Linked DNA regions of Homo sapiens: region 1 is linked to region 2. The links are contacts of gene promoters, found by promoter capture Hi-C in human tissues and cell types (Jung and others, 2019). All regions are on one chromosome and are shown on one strand. Each heading gives the region's core, a stretch centred on a gene start or on the middle of the fragment in contact. The rest is flanking DNA. Distances are from core to core; before and after follow the strand shown.

Evidence for each region. The method cuts DNA at HindIII sites, captures the fragments that hold promoters and counts their contacts. A contact is called where the count stands out against the background at its distance.
Region 1: a contact is called between a fragment that was not itself captured here and the fragment with the promoter of IGIP in region 2, in 1 of the 25 tissues and cell types used here (hippocampus).

What each region holds. Positions count from the first base shown.
Region 1 is chr5:139,564,514-139,568,060 of GRCh38, reverse strand. The region is part of intron 1 of UBE2D2 (ubiquitin conjugating enzyme E2 D2); the gene reads right to left. Among named protein-coding and RNA genes, the nearest start is that of UBE2D2, 4.9 kb to the right of the region's middle. RefSeq lists enhancers at 1-63, 2,327-2,466, 2,657-2,756. The HindIII fragment of the contact is 5,297 bases long and covers 1-3,547 here.
Region 2 is chr5:140,124,316-140,127,486 of GRCh38, reverse strand. It overlaps IGIP (IgA inducing protein), which reads right to left and starts at 1,550. Exons shown (of 1, transcript NM_001007189.2): 1 at 1-1,550. PURA (purine rich element binding protein A) reads right to left here. Exons shown (of 1, transcript NM_005859.5): 1 at 1,868-3,171. The HindIII fragment of the contact is 10,247 bases long and covers 1-3,171 here.

The DNA.
Region 1 (3,547 bases), core at 675-3,174, 560 kb after region 2:
CTAAGCAATTTTTTAAAATACAGTACTGTTCAGCGTTACAACTACTTTCTTTAAGATCATGCTTCGGTAACTTCCCAATCTCAGACATTTTCAAAGTGTATTGTCAGTCTACAGAGAAACTCAAAACATGAAACAGATCATAATGGAAGAGTAATACATAAACTTCTACGGGATCAATGTATTTACAAAACTGGTTTTCCCAAGACCTCACACAAAACCATACAAAAGGCGGGGCACAGTGGCTCACGCCTGTAATCCCAGCACTTTGGGAGGTCGAGGCGGGTGGATCACTGGAGGTCAGGAGTTTGAGACCAGCTTGGCCAACATGGTGAAACCCCGTCTCTACTGAAAATACAAAAAGTAGCTGGGCATGGGGGTGCATGCCTGTAGTCCCAGCTACTCGGGAGACTGAGGCAGGAGAATGGCGTGAACCCAGGAGGCAGAGCTTGCAGTGAGCCGAGATTGTGCCACTGCACTCCAGCCTGGGCAACAGAGCGAGACTCTATCTCAAAAAAAAAAAAAAAAAAAAAACTTAGCAAATTGGCTGGGTGCAGTGGCTCATCCCTGTAATCCCAGCACTCTGGGAGGCCAAGGCGGGCAAATCACCTGAGGTCTCAAAAAAAAAAAGCAAGTTAATTAGAATTGTATTTAAAAACTACTTAAGGCCGGGCACGGTGTCTCATGCTTGTATTCCCAGCACTTTGGGAGGCCGAAGCAGGTGGATCACAAGGTCAGGAGTTCGAGACCAGCCTGGCCAATATGGTGAAACCCCGTCTCTACCAAAAATACAAAAATTAGCTGGGCGTGGTGGTGCGAGCTTGTAGTCTCAGCTGCTCGGGAGGCTGACGCAGGAGAATTGCTTGAACCTGGGAGGCGGAGGTTGCAGTGAGCCGAGATCATGCCACTGCACTCCAGCCTGGGCGACAGAGCAAGACTCCATCTCAAAAACAAACAAACAAGAAAACTTAATCTTACATAAAGCATTACTTTCAAACTTTTAAAAATACAGAAAGTATTGTTTAAATGACTTAATCTTTTTACACTCCTGATTACTTAATGAACCCCAATCCCTGGTTACTTTAATCCACATACTAAACTGATGTCGACCAAAAATGCGTATTTTGTTGTTCTTTTTTTTTTTAAGTTGAATCGGTTGCCAAAAAATCTGGATTTGTGGCTTCTCTTTTTTTTTTGAATGGAAGATATTGCAACACTGGGCCCACAGATTTTAGCAATAGCAACATTTGCAGGGAGCTGGTTAGCAGTTGCCCTCATCTGATAGCACATGCATTTTCTAGCTCCCTCAAGTTCTCTCTGCTCACTTTGGTACCTGCCTGGCTTTTATAGACATCAGAGTTTGAAATCTTTTTGTTTGTTTGTTTGTTTGAGACAGGGTCTCACTCTGTTGCATAGGCTGGAGTGTAGCGGCTTGATCACGGTTCACTGCAGCCTCTACCTCCCAGGCTCCCGAGATCCTCCCACCTCAGCCTCCCACCTAGCTGGGACTACAGCCATCCACCACCATACCCAGCTAATTTTTTGTATTTTTTGTAAAGACCATGTTTCGTCATGTTGCTCAGGCTGGTCTCGAACTCCTGAGCTCAAGCGATCTGCCCACCTGGGCCTCCCAAAGTGCTGGGATTACAGGCGTGACCCACTGTGCATGACCCACTGTGCATGACCTGAAATCTTTATTTCATTGAGAACTTTGTCTTGAGACGCCTTAAAAGAAGCTAGCCATAGGCCGGGCACAGTGGCTTACACCTGTAATCCCAACACTTTGGGAGGCCGAGACGGACGGATCTCCTGACGTCAGGAGTTCAAGACCAGCCTGGCCAACAGGGAGAAACCCTGTCTCTATTAAAAATACAAAAATTAGCTGGGCATGGTGGTGAGTGCCTGTAATCCCAGCTACTTGGGAGTCTGAGGCAAGAGAACTGCTTGACCCTGGGAGCCAGAGTTTGTAGTGAGCCAAGATCATGACACTGCACTCCAGCCTGAGCAAGACTGCCTCAAAAAAAAAAAAAAAGAAAGAAAAAAAATCTCTATCACAGAAATAGATCAAGTGATAATCCTGGCATTACTTTGTTTGAAAGCTATGTATGCCAAACGTTATCTGCAACTAGTAGGACACCATTAAAATGTACAATGCACTATTACTGTTAAGAAAAGCTTTTAGTATCCAACTCTGGTCAGTCTTCAACTCCTCAAAGAATCAAGATATTTATTTAGCCTTTTACCCTTCCCAAGAATAGAGAAATTAACCAAATACTTCAACATTACAGCACTCTAAGAGCACCAAAAAGCCTCCTACATCTGTATAGCAAAAGTAAAGAAGAAAAACAGGAAGCAAGTCAGAAAGGTCTCCGATCAGCCAAGGAAACCACACAGTTCACAGAGCACATGAAGCCCTCTTCAGTCAAGAGCCTACTGGATCTTATTTTAGACACAATTTTAATAAGCTCTGTGATCTGGTTTCTTAGCCCACAACAGATGAGATGCAGCCAACTGGAAAAGGGCTGGGGGTGGTGCTGCTAGAGGCAGGCACTCAAAGCATCAAAATCAAGGCTGAAGACCTAAAAAGTCAGCAGAAAACCTTAAAACATAGCAGGGTGGGGCCATGTGGTGTAGATACCAACAATCCCAAAGGATCCCAAGCCCTGCCCAGAACTACACACAATGTTCATAATGACCCTCTTTGCTATGCTCTGCTTATAGTATAGGTCAGGGGACCTTAAGATGTATATCAAAATAAAGTCCATCAAAAGCTTTTTCCAAAAAAGACATGGCATTTCAAAGACTGCCAAATTCACAGACATGAATAGCGTCCCTCTGTCAAAGAAACAAGATATTGAATTCCTGAAGATGTCACATGTCAAATGTAGTTTTTCTTAGAAAAATCTTATCAGAACCCAGATGTAGCAACTCATGACATTTAAGTCAAGAAGGTATTTAAGTAGAATTATTTTTTCAGGGAATGATAATTGGGAAGGTTCAAGATCAATTATAGAAGCCAAGCAATGGGGATTCCACTGCAGACACATTACTAGGACAGAAGATAAGATAGAACTGATCTTATCCATGCCTAGGAAGTCAGCTATTCAACTTAAAATTGTGGTACAAAGAGTTTGGAAAAAAAAAATTAATCTCCATTTTGTTTTCACAATCTTTTTGAGTGGTATACCAAAATAAACTTCATTTTTCTTATCACTAGCTGTCTCAGAGAAGTCAAGCCATACTTTGTGAAGAGCTCTAGGGAATAAACTAGGGGAAAATGGTTAATATTGAATTCTAAAAGTTCAGGCCAGGCCAGATGACGTGGCTCACATCTGCAATCCCAGCACTTTGGGAGGCCAAGGTGGCAGAACACTTGAGGTCAGGAGTTCAAGACCAGCCTGGCCAACATGGTGAAATCCCGTCTCTACTAAAAATACAAAAATTAGCTGGGCATGGCGGCGGAGTGCCTGTAATCCCAGCTACTCCGGAGGCTGAGGCAGGAGAATCGCTTGAACCCAGGAAGCGGAAGTTGCAGTGAGCCAGGATAGCA
Region 2 (3,171 bases), core at 301-2,800:
CATATTAGCCTCAGTTACCCAGATTAAAGCAGAACTCCGGCCTTCCCTGACTGCTGAAAACCCAACAGATTTTCTCAACATGCTATAAGGAAAGAGGAAAAATTGGTTTCAGCTCACACCTCATGGCTGGAAGCCTCTGGAAGCCTCCAGCCAGTGCACACTCCCCAACTTATGCTAAAAGAGGGCCAATTTCATCCCCACAGCATCACAAGAGTCCACCCTCCAACCACACAGTGCTCTGACACCAAGCTCACCCATTCCTCAACTCTTGTGCCTTAGGATAACACATGAACTTAGCCCACATAATACACACCAGCGTCTTAGAGACTTGAGACCAGGGCAAAGAAACAGACTAGTGTAGTTTGCACTGAGATCAGTAAGAAAAATGGGAAGTGATGCACATTTCCAATTAGAATGACAAGAAGAAGACCCACATCCCTAAACTGGAATTTGGCCAGGGCATCAGAGTTAGCACCCCCTCTCTGAGTACCGCTAGCGATTAGGATGTGTGCTCTGGGCCTCCTCTAAAAGAGAGCATCTACAGTAAGTAACACAGTATGGGACATTAGTTCAGTGACGACTGCCAAGAAAGCAGATACAATTCTTGAATCTGGGGCTGTCTACGGCACCTGAGGTCAATCATCCAAGCTGTGACCTGTCCCAACCCTGCTTACTTTAAGATATCTGATGGGCACAGAGCACTCAGGGATATGGCTGCTGGCTACTTTGGACTCTAGATCTCACAGGTAATCAACAGGTATCTGGGATTGAATTAGCAAACTGTACCATAGCTCCTTAAACAGACATTGTCAAGTCTGAAATCATGTCAAGCATGAATCTTCACTGTCAGGTCAGTAATCAAAGTGGGAGTCTTCCCACATCAGCCAAGGTTATTTTGTCAGAACCTTAGAGGAGTTGGACAGTTTTTCATGTTGCAAGTGATTGGTTTACTTATTTCAGTCAAGCTGGATTGGCAAACCAGACTGATTTATTTAGTGAGCTTTGTTTTTTTGATTCTTATGTGTGTGCTAACCCAAAGCTGTTGTATTTGGGCTAAATACACTGACAGAGAAAATTCAAACGACAAAAGTTTTCAGCAAACTTCTGTGGCATTTTTTCTTTTTGGAAGTAAATGCAAGATCTAAAGGTATTTCTACCCAACAACGTCTGTTTAAGTGTTTAATGTTATTTCCTTTTTGGTCCTATACAGAATGCTATGACTTCTATATAGGTCTGAATGCTGCTCCATGTAGATTCCTTCTGTATATCTAAAAATATATACTTTTCAGTAGTTCAATACATGGTTAATCTTCCCACAGAGGAAGATTTTTGTAATCACATGTTGCAAAGTAGAAAACATCTCCTTTCTAAGAAAGGAAATATACTTTCCTATTGTACACTTTTGAATAAGCCCAAAGGCATGCACCAAAAATCATTAATAAAACTAATACATGCAATAAAATGGTGTAGAGTTAGACTTAAAGTGCTGCTTCTCAATTTTTTTTAATTTGAAGAAGACATTTTGTCAGTTGTAGACTCAAAAATCTTTCCCCCACCCACCCTCCCCACCCCATGGCATTAAGAGAGAAAAGTAAAAAGTATGCATAAATCTTTTAACTATGCTTTACATGGGGGAAAGAACAGATGTATCAACTATCCTATATATCAACTGGATTCCCAGTTTTAAATAAAACCAATATTTACTGGTAAAAATTGTCAAAGCGAATACACGCAAACAAATGTTACTAGTAAATAAATGTTCTACATAGAGAATAATTTACTTTGGTTTTATGCGCCTTCTCAAAAATAACACTAGTGTCCCAACGTCACCAAACTGATGTGTTCCAGCAAAGTTGTAAGGCAAATCTTTTTTTCCCTAGTGACATCTTGTTTCCCAACAGACAAAACTAAAATCTTTTGGTGAGGAAGGGGTTAAGATAATGGCTAACCCCTTGGCATCCTGAGCATTGTGGTTTATCAAACTCTACCCTGCTAGAAATTGTCAGGCACCCTGACCCCTGCCTTGAACCAGGAAGGCTCCCATGTCTAGAGATGCCCTGACTCCTTATAAATAGCTTTCAGAACTTTGCTTTTTTCCCTTCTCTCTGGTTGTTATAATGTCTAACGAAGCTGGTTGCAATGTCACATTTTGCTAGTAGGGGCCACCATCTAACAATAATTCCAATATGAAAGGTTTTAAGCCAATAGTTGGTTCCTAATTTTATCAACGATTTGCACTAAAATTCTCTACAATTTACTTAGAGCAGAGATCTTTAACTTGGGTTTCAGAAGATGTGTGATGCCCCTGAAGTTGTATGCAAAATTATCCAGGGATGGGCATTTTTTTTTTCTTGGGTAGAGGATCCATCACACTGTCATCAGATTATCAAAGATATCTGTGACCCCCAAAAAGGGTTATAGGGACTTAGAGGGATACCCGTAATTCATTTTATACCAGGACTGGGAAATGGGGGCAGAAAACTAAAAATGGCCTCGAAAAAGGCCAGGGACAAATTGCTGATCTTTTCCCTTTATTCACATTGGGAAAATAAGTGCTTCAAACTGGAAAAATCATTAATTAAGCTGGTTAAACTCCATTAAAAAATAATCAAATCGCTTTCTAAATTTTTTTCATTTTCGATATGTGGTAAATTTTGTCTCCAAGAAAAGGTTTGGAGACTGAATTTTTCTCTTTTCCTAAAGGAAATTCATAGATAGAATGCTGAATATCATCCACATTTAAAGATTTGACAACATAAAAGTTAGATAACTCTTAATGATGTGAATCTTTAACTTATGATTTTGAGTAAAGGATTATCTAGAATCAAATATACACTTATTAATCTTCATTTCCCAAAATTGGTCCATATTTAGACAACTACCTGGCACAATTTCACTAGATAAACCTAAAATCTGAACAATGGAAGTTAAACTTCTACCCAAAGTAAAAACAAAGCCATAAGATTCCACAATTGAATTGGCCACAAACATTCACACTATGTTATAAAGGACTTTCTCATTTCAAATACATCACTGAATGTTCAACAGAATTTGCAAACATAAGATCCAGAATGACTAGCAAAACATGCTAAGAGCATGTCAAAAAGTAAAACACCACCTCTCCCCCCCCAATCTGGAAACACACTCAGGCATTCCAAAAATAAACCAGAT